Linked DNA regions of Homo sapiens: regions 1, 2, 3, 4, 6 and 7 are each linked to region 5. The links are contacts of gene promoters, found by promoter capture Hi-C in blood cells and fetal thymus (Javierre and others, 2016). All regions are on one chromosome and are shown on one strand. Each heading gives the region's core, a stretch centred on a gene start or on the middle of the fragment in contact. The rest is flanking DNA. Distances are from core to core; before and after follow the strand shown. Region 1 overlaps LOC105375730 (a long non-coding RNA gene). Region 2 has its middle 74 kb from the start of SNTB1. Region 3 overlaps DEPTOR (DEP domain containing MTOR interacting protein). Region 4 has its middle 94 kb from the start of SNTB1. Region 5 holds the start of MRPL13 (mitochondrial ribosomal protein L13). Region 6 has its middle 35 kb from the start of SNTB1. Region 7 overlaps LOC105375730 (a long non-coding RNA gene).

Region 1 (2,700 bases), core at 42-2,541, 340 kb after region 5:
CTTTCTAAATGTATTGTTAACCTAGTGAGAAAGTTTTTAAAAATCCATAAAGGTCAAAAATTAATAAAAGTCTCCTGGGAATCCAGAAAGGTGCACAAACACTCAGGCATGCTTTTGTCCTGGGGCATCTGCCAAACCCTGGAGACTGAGTTTTGCTGTGACAGCCTCTCAAGCTCAAGGCTAGGTCCCCCTAAAGAGGAATTTTTCCAGGAGATCCTTACAGAAAGCTGGTAACGTAAACAGTTGTACCTTCCATGAAAGTGAGATCCAGAAATAAACCTGCTCTCAGAGCAAACAGTAAATGATGTATTCATTTATTTTTAATCTTGGACCTGGCTAAATAAGTGAGGAGAGATTTCCTTCTGAGATGTACAGCCCTAACACAGCCTTCATCCAGGTTTGTAGCCTGAATTCATATGATGTGTGTGAATTTCAACAGCTCATGGCTAAGAATTATTTTAAATTGGTTCCAGGTTGATATTGGTCCTAAACACCTAGCAAAAGCAAATTCAGTCCTTTCTAGAGGAGCTCACTTTAAACATAGGCCTTGAACAATTCCACGGATAGTGTTCCAAGATATACAAATACATGATTTTTTAAAAAATCACAAAACCACATAAGGAAGTAAGACACTGTAAGCAATAGCCAGCAGAAATAAAACAAGTAGACAATAGACTCATATATACAAAGACCTTAGGTAAGACGATTAATAAGCATGCAATAAGTTATGTTTAAAATATTTAAAGAAGAGAGAGAATTGAAAATATGAGTAAGAATAAAAGATTATTAAAATAACGGTATATATTTGGAAGAAAAAAGAGTTTCTAGAAAAGAAAAACCTAGTATTTAAAAAAATAAAAATTCAATGGATCTAGAGAATCAATAATAAAACATATGATTTACAAATCAGAAAGATAGCAAGATATAAAATGAATATACAACAATCAATAGAGTATCCATCATATATACACAAACAATGGAAGAGTGAATCCCATTTACAATAGCAATTACAATAGAAATAGCCTTAAGAAAATTTTAAAATCTACATAAGGGAAATGTTAAAACACTTCCAAAAACTTAACTTGCGAACTTAAACAAATAGGTAGAGAATGACTCAATGTCATAAAAATGTCAGTACTCCATAAGTTAATTTTCAGATTTAATAAAGCCCCAATAAAAATGCCAAAAAGATTTGATTATCTTAAAATGAGATAATTTAATACTAAAATTTATATGAAAAAAATAAACATGCATGAATAGTCGGGAAAACACTGAAAAAAATAAAGAGCTATCGAGGGACAGGTGGAGGCAGAAATCTCTGTCATACTCAAATATATCAGAAAGCCATTATAATTACAAGATTATTGTACTAGTTCATGAATAGACAGATTACTTAGTGGAATAGACTAGAAGACACAAGTATATATGGAAATATAATGCATGATAAAGTTGACATCTCTAATTACTGGGACCAAGATAGACTTTTAGTAAATGATGTTAGGTTATGACAATTGAAAAGCCATATAGATGATAATATTGTATCCTCACAGTCTACACAAGAAAGAAAACCCCAATGGATTAGAAAACTCATTATAAAACTGAAGCCATGCAAGTATTAGAAGAAAACATAGATAAATACCTTTGAAATCTGGTGATGAAAGACTTTCAAAATATGTCTAAAAATCTAGAGACAATAAAAGAAAAGATTCATGAACTCAACTCTATAAAAATTTTTAAAATTTTTAAAGAACTTTTGAATGACACAAAACTCTGTAAACAAAAACATAGACAAATGATGAACTGGGAGAAAATATTTTCAACACACATTGCAGATAAAGAACTAATATCATTAATATGTAAATAACTTGTAAACATCAAGATTAAAGAAGGACCAAAACCTTATAGATAAATGGGCAAAATATATGATGTAGACAATACACCCCTAAAAAGATACAAAATGTCCTTACACCTATGAAGAGATCTTCTATCTCATTCATAATTAAATCCAAATGAAAAAGAGTAAAACATTTCACATCTATCCAAGTGATCAAAATTAGTATGTACGATGATATACTCTGTAGGGTAATGAGCACTCATATATTGGTGATGGGTGTGCAAAATGATGCAGTCTCCGTGGATTGAAATTTGGCAACATCTAACAAAACTCGATACACATTTTACGCTTTGACCCAGCAACCCGACTTCTGGGAATTTGCCCTGAAGTTTACTTTCAACAATACGAAAATAAATACATAAAATGTTATTTATTAAGACATTATTTGTAATTGCCAAAATACTGGAAACAACTCAAAAATTCCTATATAGAAAATTGATTGCATGAATGATAGATCCTTGCAATAGAATACTGTGCATCTTTTTTTAAAAACAATAAGGAAAACCTATATGAACTGATATAAAATGATTTCCACGATTGATTGATTGACTGATTGATTTTGAGACAGAGTCTCACTCTGTCACCCAGGCTGGAGTGCAGTGGCACGATCTCAGCTCACTGCAACCTCTGCCTCCCAAGTTCAAGCCATTCTCTTGCTTCAGCCTCTTGAGTAGCTGAGATTACAAGCGCTGGCCACCATGCCCAGCTAATTTTTTCATTTTTAGTAGATATGTGGTTTCATCATGTTAGGCCAGGCTGGTCTTGAACTCCTGATCTCAGGTGATCCACCCACCTTGGCCTCCCAA
Region 2 (2,700 bases), core at 100-2,599, 440 kb before region 5:
CTTCTAGGGTTTTTATAGTTTTAGGTCTAACGTTTAAGTCTTTAATCCATCTTGAATTAATTTTTGTATAAGGTGTAAGGAAGGGATCCAGTTTCAGCTGTCCTAAATAAAATACTGGCAAACCGAATCCAGCAGCACATCAAAAAGTTTATCCACCATGATCAAGTGGGCTTCATCCCTGGGATGCAAGGCTGGTTCCATATATGCAAATCAATAAATGTAATCCAGCATATAAACAGAACTAAAGACAAAAACCACATGATTATCTCAATAGATGCAGAAAAGGCCTTTGACAAAATTCAACAATGGTTCATGCTAAAAACTTTCAATAAATTGGGTATTGATGGGACATATCTCAAAATAGTAAGAGCTATCTATGACAAACCCACAGCCAATATCATACTGAATGGGCAAAAACTGGAAGCATTCCCTTTGAAAACTGGCACAAGACAGGGATGCCCTCTCTCACCACTCCTATTCAACATAGTGTTGGAACTTCTGGCCAGGGCAATTAGGCAGGAGAAGGAAATAAAGGGTATTCAATTAGGAAAAGAGGAAGTCAAACTGTCCCTGTTTGCAGATGACATGATAGTATATCTAGAAAACCCCATTGTCTCAGCCCAAAATCTCCTTAAGCTGATAAGCAACTTCAGCAAAGTCTCAGGATACAAAATAAATGTACAAAAATCACAAGCATTCTTATACACCAATAACAGACAAACAGAGAGCCAAATCATGAGTGAACTCCCATTCACAATTGCTTCAAAGAGAATAAAATACCTAGGAATCCAACTTACAAGGGACGTGAAGGACCTCTTCAAGGAGAACTACAAACCACTGCTCAAGGAAATAAAAGAGGATACAAACAAATGGAAGAACATTCCATGCTCATGGGTAGGAAGAATCAATATCGTGAAAATGGCCATACTGCCCAAGGTAATTTATAGATTCAATGCCATCCCCATCAAGCTACCAATGACTTTCTTCACAGAATTGGAAAAAACTACTTTCAAGTTCATATGGAACCAAAAAAGAGCCTGCATCGCCAAGTCAATCCTAAGCCAAAAGAACAAAGCTGGAGGCATCACGCTACCTGACTTCAAACTATACTACAAGGCTACAGTAACCAAAATAGCATGGTACTGGTACCAAAACAGAGATATAGATCAATGGAACATAACAGAGCCCTCAGAAATAACGCCGCATATCTACAACTATCTGATCTTTGACAAACCTGACAAAAACAAGCAATGGGGAAAGGATTCCCTATTTAATAAATGGTGCTGGGAAAACTGGCTAGCCATAATTCTCTTTCTTGGTCTGCCTGACTCCGTCTTCTTGCAGGCAAGATACTTCCACCTGCTGGGAATGATGGCCACTGGCAAGGTCAGCTCTACAAATTTTAACTTGAGATTCAAAGGGAAGAGAGAATCTTTCCCTCCAACTGCAGCAGAAAATTTTGTCCCAGAGTGGGCTTTAACTGGCCTAGCTCAGTCACCTGCTTTTCAATGCGTGGATTTAGGTAGGGGAGCAGACACTATGATTGACAGCTCCATCAGAACTACAAGTAGTGGGTTAGGATTTCCTCCAGAAACCAGAAACAGGGCTACAAAATATGCTGAGCAGAGAAAAATAGCTGTCATAGTCCATTCTGCTTGTTGGCTATGAAAATGATATTAAACATTCAAGAAATGGAATGCATTTTTCATGCACAACTAAAATTTCAGCCACCTGATACATGAAGTATACACCTCCAGCCTAAGAGTCAACATGAAAATTCAGGACATTTTCCTTCCTCTCTTTAAGTCAAAAATATAGAACAGTAGATAGACAGTAAAAGATATTATCTCTCTGCCCAATACCTCCTGTTATTCATGAATATTCAATGGAAAATGCCAGATTTGTTGTTAATTTGGTTACTTATGCAAAAATTAATCACTAAGATATCTCTCTTCCCACCCAGAAAATAATAGAGCTAAATATTGGGTTTGGAAAAGGGCTATAAACACTGTCTATTCCATCTCTTTCATTTTGTGCATTGTGATATTGAAGACCAGAGAAGTAATATAATCTAGCTAAAGTTACACAGCTTCCTATTGAATAAATCTTGGGTTAAAACTCAAATTTCCTTCCAGGTAGTATAGTACTTTTTTCATTGTATACCATTATCCAAATTGTGTACATATTACATCCTAAGTTTTTTTTTAATGTAGAAGCAAATAGACGATTGTAAACTAAAAAGGGATATTTTCAGGTCTCATAATCTTCCAATTTTTATGCAACAACTCAAAAATCCTCCTCCATTCATATTTTCCAGTGCATAGTTCTATGATACCCAGAAAAAAAAATGGTGACTTCTATGAAGTTTCAAACTGAGTGGAAATGCTTGCAAAATAATTACTGATAAAGTCAGAAGGATGTGAATCATGAGGGCTGCCTTTCCAATTTGGCTTCTGAATTTTTTTCAAAAACATCTATCTCCTGCTGTGTTTTTATGCAATTATACACAGTATGATTCAATAGGGAAAAAGAGTCCCTAAATACCATGAACAGCCAAAATAAAGTTCTAATCAACTCACTTGAGTTTTTAATTGTTTCAAAATACATCCTAGGTACTAACATGACAATCCTTAACTTTTCTTATTTTAGTAGAAATTAGTTCTGTTGTTCTCGACCAATAAAGTTTACTTGGGATAAACT
Region 3 (2,700 bases), core at 17-2,516, 460 kb after region 5:
GGAATGTTCAGTTATGTTATGTTCAGTCCTTAGGCCTCAATTTTTCCATCTGTGGAAGAGAAATTACGATACTGTATTCTTTTATCCAAAGCAAGTGAAAGTAATAAATATGTAGAAACCAATCTCTCCCTGAAAGACATGGTCTCCATAATGCTAATATAGCATTAATAATATTGTTCTGCTGTCAGTAAAACTCCAAAGGACCCCCACAATGAAAACTAGAATTTTTTTTTTTTTTTTTTTTTTTTTTAGAGATGGAATCTCACACTGTCGACTGGGCTAGAGTGCAGTGGCATGATCTTGGCTCACTGCAACATCTGCCTCCCAGGTCAAGTGATTCTCCTGCCTCAGCCTCCTGAGTAGCTGGGATTACAGGCGCCCGCCACCACTCCCAGCTAATTTTTTGTATTTTTAGTAGAACGAGGTTTCACCATGTTGGCCAGGCTGGTCTCAAACTCCTGACCTTGTGATTCGCCTGCCTTGGCTTCCCAAAGTGCTGGGATTACAGGCATGAGCCATCACGCCCAGCCTGAAGACTAGGAATTTAAGAGAATTGCCAAAATCAAGTCCAGTCTAAATAATAATAGCCAACTACATTTTTTTTTTTTTTTTGAGATAGGGTCTTGCTCTGTTGCTTGGAGTGCAGTGGCACAATCACTGCTCTCTGCAGCTTTGACTTTTCCAGGCTCAAGTGATCCTCTCATCTCAGCTTCCTTAGTAGTTGGAACTACAGGTGTGCACCACCACACCTGGCTAATTATTTTGATATTTTGTAGAGATGGAGTTTCACTGTGTTGCCCAGGCTTGTCTTGAATTCCTGGCCTCAAACGATTGCCTGCCTCGGCCTCCCAAAGTGCTGGGAATACAGGCGTGAGCCACTGTGCCCATCCTACATTTTTGACTTCTGGAAATATTAAAAAATCAAAGGTAAAGTAAAAACGGAGTGGAAAGAAAAAGTAGAAAATTTAAGCTGCAAATTGACCTGAATAGACTCCCCCTAAAATATAATTGGTAGTGTAGAATTTGGTGTTAATTCAGTTTGGAAGCCATACATTAACAGTTTGATGGACATTGTTTCGATTCTTTAGGAGAACCTGTTAAACAAGCACAGGAATTGTTTCTCATGGAGGCCATAGAACAGTTGTTTGGAACTTGGATTCTGGAGTCAGACACTATAGTTCTATTTTCCTCATGCCATTTACTGTGTTTTCTTTGGGTGACTTCCTAATACCTTTGGGCTTTAGCTTCCTCATCAAAAACTGAGAGAGAAAGAAAATAGGATTGTGAAATCATGGTGCTGGGGAAGGGAGAACATTTGTTGTTACCTATGTGGCTGGTACCCACTTTATATGGATGTCCAAACTGGCACTGTAAAAATACAGATATCAGAAATCTCAGACATAGAGGAACAAAGATCACAGAGATAAGGGACTGAAAAATGAAATGCGGCTGGGCACAGTGGCTCACACCTGTAATCCCAGCACTTTGGAAGGCCGAGGCGGGTGGATCACCTGAGGTCAGGAGTTCGAGACCAGCCTGGCCAAGATGGTGAAACCCTGTCTCTGTTAAAAATACAAAAATTAGCAGGCTGTGGTGGCACATGCCTGTAATCCCAGCTGCTTGGGAGGCTGAGGCAGGAGAGTTGCTTGAACACAGGAGGCGGAGGTTGCAGTGAGCCGAGATTGTACCATTGCACTCCAGCCTGGGCAACAAGAACAAAACTCCATCTCCAAAAAAAAAACACAAAGAGAGAAAAGAAAAGAAAAGAAAAGAAAAGAAAAGAAAAGAAAAGAAAAGAAAAGAAAAGAAAAAAGAAAAATGAAATGCACACAGGTCAGGACACCATGCTGCCCTCTGCTGGTTTCAAAACGGCCTAGAGCTGTGTTCTCCAAGATGGCAGCCACTAGCCACGTGAGCCTTGAAATGTGAGTCTGATTAAAATGAAAAAACACACTGGATTTTGAAGACTTAGTATAACAAAATGTAAAGTAGCTAATTTGTATTTTTCATATAGATTGCATTTTTAAATGATAATATTTTGGAGATGGCGAGTTAAAGTATATTATGAAGATTAATTTAACCCATTCCTCCTTTTTTTTTTTTTGCTATTTCTACTAGAAAATTTAAAATCACATATGTAGATTGTCTTGGTGGCTCCTAGCATATTTTCATTGGGTAGCCCTGGTCTGGTGGCTGATTTCCCACAAGAACAGAACAGCCAACCAACAAACAAGTTCACCCCTTTCATTGGGTACAGTACTTTGAAAGCCATTTGCCATAGAAGATGATCCTTGTCCTGAACAAGCAAATGATCAAGAGTTTTTCCAGTTTTTCTCACACTATCTCCCCCATCCCATTTCCCTTATTTTGATGAGGAAGCACATTTTGTTCCCACTTAAGAGGAATCCCCCATTGAGGTTATGATTTCAGCACCAAGAAGGATTTCAGAGTCACAGGAGTGAGCCAGTGGGGCAAAACCAACACCCACCCCTTCCCCAGTGGCCTGGAGGCTTTGCCAACTGCCAATATGACCAAAACCTGGGACAGCTTGGGGAGTGGCTAAAATAAAATTTAAAGAATATGAACCCTGATACGCAGGCCTTCCTTGGATGGAAGCGGGGGTGGGGTGAGCTCTTTGTTGGGTTAAGTGTCATCACTCAGAGGAGAAAAAAGTAAAGGGAAGCTTTCTAGAAAAAAAGC
Region 4 (2,700 bases), core at 79-2,578, 460 kb before region 5:
GGATTAGAATTCACCCTAATGAGCTCATTTTAAATTATCTCTGTAAAGACCTTATTTCCAAATAAGGTCACATGCTAAGGTACTAGGGGTTAGGGCTTCAACACATCGTTTGTGGGGACACAATTCAACCCATACAATATGTTTGTCATTCACAGAAGATTTCTGCACAGTAGTCAAGAAAATATAAACAGTGACACCTTCTAGGGTGTTAGACTATGAGATCAGGGGAATTTTATTTTTTGCTTTTCATCTTTGAATACTCTATAAATTTTAACCATGAGTACATAATATTATCTTGATTTTCAAATTACAACCAGTAATGCCTTCTTGGGGCTTTCTTCATTATGTTATTGGAAATAGGCAACAGAGCATTTAACAGAAAATGAATAGCTGTCCCAAACATTCCATGTCTGAAACAAGTACTTCAGGGGGAAGCCTAGATTCTGTTTCCAGTGAACAGTGTTTTACTAAGCCATTTAATCTAGGTTGTAAGCTATCTGAGCTGGTACTAGTTTAATCACATTTTGGACACAATGCCCAGTATGTTTTTGGCCATGAACTTGGGCAAAAGGCAATGTCTGTGACCCATTTATGAGTCACCAGATCTTATTGGCTAATGCCAAACAATATCTGTTCTGTTCTTAAATAGTGGATTAATGTGGAATTTGCTGTCTCTGCTAGCATCCCCCTAAAAGGACTGCAAACATGAAGCTAAGCGTGACGATCAGAGGCGCAGGCTCATTCCTGCTGCACGTGCACTTGGCAGTTTCCTCTAAGTGCTTCTGCAGTGCCATGCCTCCAAGGCCACAAGTGTGCATCCCACAGGGCCCAGCCAAAGAACTTCAGTATGCGCCCTTTATCAGTCCCTTCAAGGCCAATGCCACACAAAATTTATTTCAACTATCTCTCCATTCAGTTCTCACGTCTATAGAGAGGAAAGTCAGCTAATGGAAACCTTTAATTTCAGTGTCAGTATGAGATTGTGTTGAAAGAGGAGTTTTAATGTATAAGTAGAGAGGGGCTATTTAATTAATCAATCAACAACTTTTACTTTCTTTAAGCTTTTGCTGAGTAGCTGGCATTGGGGCACCACGTGAGTGCAGTGATTAGTGACAGGGGCATCAGAATCAGAAAGACTTGAGTCTGAGTATTGACTCTGTTAAATACTTAAAGTTGAACCACATGATACTTCTAGCATTAAATCATCCTGAAATATAATTCACTCAAGGCAATTAGAGAGCACATTCTTTCGTAGGATAGCAAAACTAGATTACTATTTTATAAGAAATGAATTCAATGTCATGTTAATAGGAAGAAAACTAATTTCTGAAAGATGAGAAAAGTTTTCCTGAATTAAAGTTGTTGCTTTATTTTTTTCCTGCCCAATACCTTTGAATGTCTACTCAATGATGTGGTCAGGGGCCAGGCTCTTTCTATCTTCTTGCCCCACCATCCTATCACATGACTTTTTCTTCACGGTGGCTGGAGATCTATTGCACCTTTAATTATCACACTTGCTTTTCAAGCAAGAGGAAGGGAGGAGGGTCCAAACCCTTATACTTAATGAAAACTCCTCTCATCAGAAGTAAGCTTATATATCACTGGGCAGAGCTGTGGCATATCACCACTGCTGGCTAGGCTGCTTCTGAGAAAAATGAGTACTTCATCCTCTATCCCCTATGTTAGAGAAAAGCAAAGAAGGTATTTGAGAATCTGTGTTGAGTGAGCCAATCCTTGACCAAGGCAGGGATGGAGGAGAAGATATCAGTTATATAATGAGTTATTTATTTGCAAGTTATGTTTAGCTTCACATTAGGATGAGGAACTAAGATTTAGAGAGGTTACAATTGCCCCAAATTTTGAGATAGGATTAGAGCCTCGGTCATTGTGTCTCCAAAGTTTTTGCATGTAAGAACTTTGCTTGCTTGGAACAAGAATCTATAGTTTTCCTTTAAGCACCTTTGATAGGAGTAATGTTCTCTATTAAGATATAGAAGTAACAATCAAGTTTGCAGTTGGCAATATACCTCCTTGACTGGCTTTAGGACACGGTGGGAAGAACAATGATTATTCAAGGTAGAGGCCAGCTACCCTACCAGGCCATTTCAGCTGCTGCTCTCTCAATATGGTAGGCAAATATACGTCTATTTTATAGTCACTGATAAGGTGTCCAATTAGATTTAAGTAACAGTAATTGTCTCCATCTCTTGTATTAGTTGAAATTGACAAGCTAATATACCTTTTATAATCCATTTTTAAGCTATAAGCAGAAGGATGTTTGAACTATTTTCTCAAAAAGCAAAAATATACGGTTCTCAGAACTTCTCCAAAAAGGTGATCAACAGGGCACTTATCAACTATTATTGCTAAAGAGACTGATGACAGATGGAGTTAGAAGGGTTTGATTTGGTTTCCAGATACTGTAAACTGTGGATAATCTGATGCACAAAGAGTATGAAGTGTGGAATGTTAAATAAAAAGTAAACCACAAGTGCAAAAGAGTCTTATGTCATTCAGTGGCAAGGTCTTCTGCTTACTCCAATGGCTGGTTATTTAGAAGAAAGATTCATCTTCACAGTGTGTCACCTAATGATTAGGACTGTACCTTGTGGAATATAGAAATGTATCATTTCAAGATAATACCTACCTCTGCATCACAGCACTAGGTGAGTCATTGGCAAAAGCACAGCACTTATGTCC
Region 5 (2,700 bases), core at 138-2,637:
AAAGAGGAGTTTATTATACTTACCAGGGAAAGTACTATCTTCTGGATTAATTGAAGCACTAATGCTTCTTTTCAAGAGGTGATAAACATTTGCTGCTGTGAAGTCTGAAAAAGAAAAGATAGACTAACTCAAAGGGCTCTAGATTTACATAATCTAACTTAGTCCAATTTCACCATCAGAGACTCTCAAGACCAGTAGGTTGTACATAAAAGTACTAAACGCTGCTCAAGATCTGTTCAAGTTTTGATACAGAAAATCTAAAGCAATCAGAGAAAATAGAAAAGGCTCCCGATCTGTACATGCCAGTCAGTTAGCACGAATGCAAAATTCCCCTCAAAAGAATAATTTTAAAGAGAAGGGAAATTCTGTGACAATACCTTATACACAACCACATACATTTACTCCTCAAAATGCCTGTTTGATCGAAACAAATGAACACATAAAATGCAATATTGAATCTAGACGGGTGCACCAAAAAGCAGTGCAATCGCAAACAATTAAAATCATTTAAAATTCATCATTTGTTTTTAAAACTTAGGTTATATGTGGGATGTCTCCTCCCATTAGATGTAAATTGTAGGACAGCAAGATCTTTGTCCATCTTGCTCCTTTCCGTATTATTTGCATGTGAAACACAGGAGCAGAAATAATAAATGCATATATTTCCAAAAAGCAGGAAATTCCATTACTAAGGCATAGAAAATTTATTAAGTTAAACATTTACTATGCCAAGAACTTCTAAGGGCTGGAATCTTGCATCCACAAATTTGTCCCTGTTTTTCCATGAAGATGCTATTTTTGCAGCCCTCATTAACTCTATCCCAGATAGAGTCCCAGCTTCGTGGGACAACTACATATTGATCCCTCTTCAGCAGAACTTGATCACAAAACTCAAACTTCTTCCCCTCTCCACAAGCCGTTCCCGCTCTTTCTCATCCCAGCGCTTACCCGGCTGATTCTCAGTACCCTCACCCGACGACACCTCTGGCCCATGTTCTGCCTCCCTACTGGCCGCCGACGGGAATTTTCCTTCCCCCCAGATCACCAGCAGCAGGTACCGATCCATCTCCTCAGAGATCACCCCCCAACTTTAGGTCTCGGCTTCCACATCCAAACAGACGCGCGCTATGACGCATTTCCGGTTCCCTTCGTTTAGGTCGGCTGGAAATTATGTCCTCCGTCGGTTTTCCGCAGTTTTTCCACCAAGCGAGATATTTTTGGGAGTTATTCCCTAAATAACTGCATTATATGCTCCTTTCATGACGAAATTGCTGCCGTGGAGAAGACTGGAGGAAACTCGAGGAAGAGGGAGAAGCCGACAAGTGCTCGACGGGCTAGGAACTGTCCTGCTTGGGTGTTAGCGTTTCCCGCCGGGCCAGTAAGGCTGAGTGACCCGGCGTGGCTACTAGGAGAAGGACGTACGGTCCTGCTAGTAGAGGAATATGTCGAGTTTCTCTAGGGCGCCCCAGGTGAGCTCGGACTCTTATGGCTTGATGGGGTTCATTATACTGGCAGAAGGAGAGCGTTGGTTCCGGCAGATTAAGTAGTGAAGCTGGGGCGGCAGGGAAGCCGAGACCCTCGGCCAAGAGGTGACTTGGGAAAGCACAAGAGGGTCGTCAGTCTGGCAAGCACTTAATGTCGTTCGTCTGTTACTCGTCCCCTCTTCTTTTCAATCTGCCCTTTTCATGTCTTTCTTGGGGGGGCGGGGGGAAGAGGATTAGAGCAGATCGGAGAGGTAATAAGGTGGATCACATAGGGCATTGTAGGCCCTTGCAATAATTTGTTTTTTGACTGAGTAAAATGGGGACCTTTTGGAGGGTTTTGATCCACGGAGTAACAGGATCTGACCTGGTGTCAAAAGGAGCACTCTGGCTGCTGGGTCGAGAATAGACTGTTCAGAAATAGGGGTTAGTAGAGGACAGAAGCAAAGAATATGTTTGGAGGGTGTTACAGTAATCCAGGCGAGACGTGATGGTGCAGAGGCCACGCTAGAAATACTATGGAGTGTGTTGAAAGTGGTCAGGTTTTGTTTGAAGGTGGAGCCAGTAGGACTTCCTGAATATTGAGTATAGGCCAACAGCAAAAGAAGAAACAAGGATTACCCCAAGGTTTTTTGGTTTGTCCAACTGGAGGGTGTGTCATCAACTGAGATAGGGAAGGCTGAGATTGAACCAGGTTTCAGGTGGAAGAATAGGAGTTAGTTTGGGTTATATCGGTCTAAGATGACTCTCAACTCAGTGCCGCTCCAAGTATGGTTCCTTCCTTGGGCTGTTTGTTGCCTGTCTGTGATGAGATAAATACAGGAAGTAAAATAAAAATTTTAAAACCTTTTTCAGCAATCTGACATCGCCCAGCATTTGTATTTTTTTCATTAAAAATTTTTTTTTTCTAAGTATCAAACTATTAGTCTACAATGGATGGGGACAAAAACTGGCCTTTTTCTTATATGTAGACTAGTTTGAGGTTGTGATAAGTAAATTTAAAATAAGACCAGCTAGCCTCGTTCTATTTTTCCAGCATTGTTTAGCCTCTTGTGTATATGCATAGAGAAAGCATCTGGTGGAGATCTTTCTGGCCTAGAATTTTCTAAGAATTTGAATACATTGATGACGACTGTAAAAACAATGCTCTATTCCTGAGGCAACCTAAAGATACCTATTTCAGGCAACTTTTTAAAGTTGAAATTTATTCCACATCACC
Region 6 (2,700 bases), core at 131-2,630, 400 kb before region 5:
AGCCCTATACTAGGCAATAAGGAATAATCTTCAGCTAAAATAGATTTCCAGTTTTGCCATGATTTACAGTGTGACTTTTGAAAAATTCATTTTCTATCTCTTTGCTTCAGTTTCCTCATCTTTAAAGTGAGAAATTTTAATACTTGCCTCGAGATCTTAACACACAAAATGTTAATACTTTACAAACTGTAAAAGTTTCAAATCAAAACAAAGATTTGTAAATACTGTATAATCAATCCTTTTGGAGGATGTTTATAAATAATAGTAAAGTGCCAGGCACTTGTACTAGTGTCTCAGCTCGCACTACTGTAATAAAATGCCTCAGACTGGGTGGCTTAAATAATAGACATTTATTTCTAATCTGGAGTCTGCAAAGCTCAACATCAAGGTGGCAACCAATTTGACTCCTGGTTAGGGATCTCCTCCTGGCTTATAAAAGGCCAGCTTCTTTCTGTGTCTTCATATGGTGAAGAAAGCGAGAGAGCAGGGGTCTCTCTTTGTCTTCGAATGAGGACATTAATCCTATCCCCACCCTCACCACCTCATCTAAACTTAATTACCTCTCAAGGACATCACTTCCAAATACTATCACACTGGGGTTTAGGGCTTCAACATATAAATTTGGGGGGCACACTAGGATCATTTATGCCTTCCTGAATCCTCCCAGGTAGGCAATATTATTTTCATAAAACCAGCAGTAACTGAGATGTACCAAGGGAAAGTGTTTGCCCAAATTCCTAACGCTAGGAGACAGAGGATCTGGGAATCAAGTCATGTCTGTTCACTGTTGACTCTGAAGGCTCTAGTGGGAAAGTCATACATATATGACTTCTACAAAACAGTCCTGACTACCACTGAGCAGGAGGGAATAAATGGCTATGAAACTCTTGGAGTAAACTAACCCAACTGGTTCATAAAATTTCATGCACTTACAATGATGTACATCCCCTGCCCCCAGCAATAGAAATTGTCTCCCAAGGCCAAATGCCTTATCTCTTGATATAAATTCCAGAACCATCAAAAGCAATAATGGAAATCATATCTCCAGGTCAATCAGTCTACAAATTTGACAGCTTTATCAAGACATGTTTGGTCTCTACTATCAAAAAGAATTTTTTGTCTAGGGCCAGGACATTTTAGCATGATAAACTCAGATAAATAAAGTTTACCTGAGGCTCCTACAAAGAATTTCAGGAATTGACCCTATTTTCAGGCCTAGACACTTGTATTTTTTTTCTATCAAAAGCAAAAAAATGAAAACAAAAGCCTGAAACACTAACAAAATTTCAAATTCAATAATTTCTTTAGAATATTAAACATCCAAGAAGAATATGAGGACCCAAAACTTTCTGGGGTTTTCTCCTTTTTTTTTAAGGTAAATCAGTGGTCCTACGTGCAAAAGCTGAAATCAACCTCTCAAGCACCTTTGACTTTTAAGTGAGTAGGACATTTTGTTCAGTACTTGCCTGACAAATTCGTGGCCATACTCTTGTTCCCAAGTAATAATCTAAATCCTAACCTGGGGCCACCTTGAAATGTTAGTTCCATTACGTCTTAGGTAGCAGAGAGAGGTTAAGGGAGACAAATCAACCCCTCAAATGTGATTTTCTGGCCACTGGCATTTTCCCGGAGCCTGAAACAAGGTCATCAAGTTAGGAACACACCAACTGAAAAGAGCAAAAAAGCAAACAAAGACTGAAGCAAAGGGCCAAGGCCACAGAGCAATAGTTGAACTCGGTTCCAAATAACTGTTCAGAACCAGTGTTAACGACACTCTTTCCCAATTCTGAGAGTGACTTTGATTTAATTCATTAGAATAATTCAATTATGCCATTTCTATTTTTCAGATTTTTTTTCTTTGCTTTGTGTAGTCCATCTGCCAAACTGCAGAGAGCCTCATTCAGGCTCACTGAACATATGCAGCTCACTTGGCCCCCACATATGCAGCATGTGTGTCATACTTATCATGTCACATAGTCCCAAGTTGGATTTATACATGTTCATTACTGTGTTGTGAAATGTGTAAAGACATTTATATTACTTCTTACTCATAGTGAACCCTGTATATGTTCTATCTTTTTCTGTTTAGCCTTAAAACAACCTTGCAAAGTAGCTGAAAAAGATACCATCACTCCCATTTTACAGATAAAAAACTATTAATAAGATTCAAGAGATTCAATGACTTGCATGATAAAGGCTAGTAGGTTCAGTGAGGTGTTACAGGAAGAAGATGGACTCTGTAGCTGAGTGGACCTTGTACTTACCACCTACTTTTCCTTCCTCTCTTTTTCCATTCCTCTATTCTCCACTTTTCCCCAGCAATCAATAACTACCAACTGTTTGAATTAAGCCAGGCAGACATTAGGTTCTGGCAAATCTGTGGTACTACTTCTTTTCCAATAATCCAAAAACAATAATCCCAAACGTGACCTGTGTCAAACTTGAAATTTTAGCTCCATTTCATCTTACCCAAAACCTGATCTTATCCTACATCTTAGCTACTACAGGTATTTTGCTGGCTATTGTGAATAAATGTGTATGCTGTTCAATAGTGCGGTACACATAATTTGTACCATAACTGTGACTGTCATAATCACTTAAGTATTCTTTGTCTCTAAGTAACCTTGAGAACAATGATTTAAGGAAACAATGTTTGGGGTAAATGAAAAGCTGAGCAGAGTTCCATGTATGAGAATGACT
Region 7 (2,700 bases), core at 171-2,670, 360 kb after region 5:
TGCCCAGTGAGATAAGTGGCCACAAGTATGCAGGGAGGCCTTTACTCTGAGACCTTGACTACTGCTCTGAGGAATCACAACAGAGATAATGATGTTCCCAGAAGAAATAGTTCAAGCGACTACCAAAAACACTGCTCCTGAACCTCTTTCTGCAAGGCAGTGGGAGTCGGTGTGCCTGCAGGTCTGAGGCTCTGGGATAACTCTCTCCACTGGCCTAGGCAAGAATTCAAGAGACTTGGTAAAGGAGTCCCGTGAGTGGACAAGAGATTTTGATGTTTGTTTGTTAGTTAGTTAGTTACTTAGTTAGTTAGATTTATGACTGCTAACTCGGCCACACCTCCTGAATTCAAACTCCATCTCTGCCACTTACAGGGTGACTTTAGGAAAGTTCCTTAACCTATCTGTGCCTTGGCATTCTCATCTGTATAATGAGGATAGCAACACTACCTGCCTTAGAGGGTTGTTGCAAGAATTAAATGAGACACAACAAGATATTCCATGTAAAGTATATGGTGTCTGACACATAGGAAGGTCAATAAATGTTACCCGTTATTATTATTAGCTTAATGGTATTAGCCTCCTTAAAGAGACAAAGCTTACATAAACTCTAGAAAGCAACATATCTTCCTATCTAGATAGAAGTAATCAACACAAAATTATACTTCATTAAAATGTATGGGCACAGATTCTAAACCCTAGCCTACTAAATAGCCAAGCCTGTATGTAAATAATATGATTCCCTCTACCTTTATTTCTAGGAAGAATTATCAATGTTCTTTGGTAAATTATCTAATCAAGACTGTACTTACAAATAAGGTGGCAAATTATTAGTAAAACAGCATTCAGGCCAGGCACTGTGGCTCACACCTATAATCCCAACACTTTGGGAGGCCAAGGCAAGCAGATCACTTGAGGCCAGGAGTTCCAGATCAGCCTGGCCAACATGGCAAAACTCATCTCTACTAAAACTACAAAAATTAGGCGGGTGTGGTGGCGCACACCTATAGTCCCAGCTATTTGGGAGGGTGAGGTAGAAGAATCCCTTGAGCTCGGGAGGTAGAGGTTGCAGCGAACTGCAATCACACCACTGCACTCCAGACTGGGTGGCAGAGTGAGAATTTGTCTCAAAACAAAACAAAACAAAACAAAACAAAACAAAAAAACAGGCCAGTTGTGGTGGCTGATGCCTGTAATCCCAGCACTTTGGGAGGCTGAGGTGGGTGGATCATCTGAAGTCAGGAGTTCAAGACTAGGCTGGCCAACATGGTGAAACCTCCTCTCTACTAAAAATACAAAAATTTGCTGGGTGTGGTGGTGCATGCCTGTGATCCCAGCTACTCGGGAGGCTGAGGCAGGAGAATTGCTTAAACCTGGGAGGCAGAGGTTGCAGTGAGCCAAGATCGTGCCATTGCACTCCAGCCTGGGCGACAAGGGCGAAACTCTGCCTCAAACAAACAAACAAACAAAACAAAAAGCAGTACTCTATGGACGAATTGTGACTTTTAGAAGATGCAGAGGCACAGCTTCTGCCAGCTTCTGATCCTTTCGATCTGGGATTACAAAGGTGTGAGTTAAGGGGATCATCGGGCCTGCAGAAGTGTTTGTTTCATTAGGGCAGTGGTTTGGTTCTATTTTGTTTTAACAAAAAACACTGTTGTGAATTTGAATGCTTTAGGAGGAGCACGCTGTCTGCAGCTAACCACAGTCCCTCTACTCACCATCGCCTTATCCCCTGCCTCTGCACACATTTCCATACCCACATGCCAACATGGCATTTGAGTTTACCACCTCTTAAAAAAAAAAAAAAAAAAAAACAGAAAATAGCAACAAAAAAAATTTCAGGACCACTGGGATTCTTGTAACCAGTCTTCTCATTGCAGAAGGACTATTGTTCATACACAGAATCCACATACAACAGCGATCCACCAGTTCCCAAATCTGCCCTTCCTTCCCTCTTTCTCTTCTTCACACTTCCCTTTCAGCTCTCCAACCAGTTTGCAGAGTTGGATTCAGCAGAAGAGGGGCATTCCTATCAATCTTTTCAGTGTTTCTCACCATTAAATAGGTAAGACAGATTACTTGCTTTTTTTCACAGTTCTTAAAAGATGTGACTCTTGGCTGGGGCTTTTCCTGAGTAAACAACATGGCAACAGGGAGATCCAAGCCTTCAGGTATCTTCTGACTTACTGGGCAGCTGTCGGCACAAAGACAACCCCAAGCTGCAGGCTGGATGGGAGAAGCTTCCAGATTTTAGATCTCCTTTTTTTTTTTTGCTTCAATATTTTTCATATAGAGCCAAAGCTCTTGGTGACACCATTTTTAATTCTTGTATTCATGTATCATAGGTCATGGCAAGTTCTCTGGAACTGAATTGTTAAATTTGCTGAGAATTTTAACATTCCTTCTATCTTTATAAACCTACATTCAACTGTATATTCCCTGTTTAATTATTGCATTGTCTCAAAGATTGTTGGGTTTTGCTTTTTTTTGTTTTTGTTTTTTTGCTCTGCAACCAGAAGGAGTGAGGTAGGGACGCAGGTAGAAGAACACTGTTCTAAGTTCCAGTAATGTGTCTTCGTTATTGTATCTAAGTTATCTTAATGTATCTAAGTTAACATATCTAAGCTATCAGCTGTGACACTTTGGTGGTATTCTCCATGACAGTTTCACAAAGTCTCATTTCCTTCACATGGAAATAGA

What was found. Contacts are between HindIII fragments. The CHiCAGO score rates a contact against its expected background, and 5 or more counts as called.
Region 1: a contact is called between a fragment that was not itself captured here and the fragment with the promoter of MRPL13 in region 5, in 1 of 17 cell types (megakaryocytes). The highest score is 5.1, in megakaryocytes.
Region 2: a fragment that was not itself captured here is called in contact with the fragment with the promoter of MRPL13 in region 5 in 10 of 17 cell types (naive CD8 T cells, activated CD4 T cells, total CD8 T cells and 7 more); the score reaches 15.4 in naive CD8 T cells.
Region 3: a contact is called between a fragment that was not itself captured here and the fragment with the promoter of MRPL13 in region 5, in 3 of 17 cell types (naive CD8 T cells, naive CD4 T cells and total CD4 T cells). The highest score is 6.5, in naive CD8 T cells.
Region 4: a contact is called between a fragment that was not itself captured here and the fragment with the promoter of MRPL13 in region 5, in 9 of 17 cell types (naive CD8 T cells, naive CD4 T cells, total B cells and 6 more). The highest score is 10.8, in naive CD8 T cells.
Region 6: a fragment that was not itself captured here is called in contact with the fragment with the promoter of MRPL13 in region 5 in 7 of 17 cell types (naive CD8 T cells, non-activated CD4 T cells, total CD8 T cells and 4 more); the score reaches 8.8 in naive CD8 T cells.
Region 7: a fragment that was not itself captured here is called in contact with the fragment with the promoter of MRPL13 in region 5 in 1 of 17 cell types (erythroblasts); the score reaches 5.0 in erythroblasts.

The regions. Positions count from the first base shown.
Region 1 is chr8:120,104,567-120,107,266 of GRCh38, reverse strand. It overlaps LOC105375730 (a long non-coding RNA gene), which reads right to left. Exons shown (of 3, transcript XR_928593.4): 2 at 1,640-1,684. Among named protein-coding and RNA genes, the nearest start is that of COL14A1, 19 kb to the left of the region's middle. The HindIII fragment of the contact is 3,772 bases long and covers 1-2,700 here.
Region 2 is chr8:120,884,666-120,887,365 of GRCh38, reverse strand. No RefSeq gene overlaps it. Among named protein-coding and RNA genes, the nearest start is that of SNTB1, 74 kb to the right of the region's middle. The HindIII fragment of the contact is 5,620 bases long and covers 1-2,700 here.
Region 3 is chr8:119,979,565-119,982,264 of GRCh38, reverse strand. The region is part of intron 4 of DEPTOR (DEP domain containing MTOR interacting protein); the gene reads right to left. Among named protein-coding and RNA genes, the nearest start is that of DEPTOR, 110 kb to the right of the region's middle. The HindIII fragment of the contact is 2,838 bases long and covers 1-2,685 here.
Region 4 is chr8:120,904,889-120,907,588 of GRCh38, reverse strand. No RefSeq gene overlaps it. Among named protein-coding and RNA genes, the nearest start is that of SNTB1, 94 kb to the right of the region's middle. The HindIII fragment of the contact is 529 bases long and covers 1,064-1,592 here.
Region 5 is chr8:120,443,837-120,446,536 of GRCh38, reverse strand. MRPL13 (mitochondrial ribosomal protein L13) reads left to right here and starts at 1,387. Exons shown (of 7, transcript NM_014078.6): 1 at 1,387-1,469. The coding sequence starts at 1,443. It overlaps MTBP (MDM2 binding protein), which reads right to left and starts at 1,118. Exons shown (of 22, transcript NM_022045.5): 1 at 949-1,118; 2 at 24-104. The coding sequence starts at 1,066. RefSeq lists an enhancer at 1,480-1,659. The HindIII fragment of the contact is 4,989 bases long and covers 1-2,700 here.
Region 6 is chr8:120,845,356-120,848,055 of GRCh38, reverse strand. No RefSeq gene overlaps it. Among named protein-coding and RNA genes, the nearest start is that of SNTB1, 35 kb to the right of the region's middle. RefSeq lists a silencer at 2,133-2,427. The HindIII fragment of the contact is 2,976 bases long and covers 1-2,700 here.
Region 7 is chr8:120,079,943-120,082,642 of GRCh38, reverse strand. The region is part of intron 1 of LOC105375730 (a long non-coding RNA gene); the gene reads right to left. Among named protein-coding and RNA genes, the nearest start is that of COL14A1, 44 kb to the left of the region's middle. RefSeq lists a silencer at 1-106. The HindIII fragment of the contact is 1,645 bases long and covers 598-2,242 here.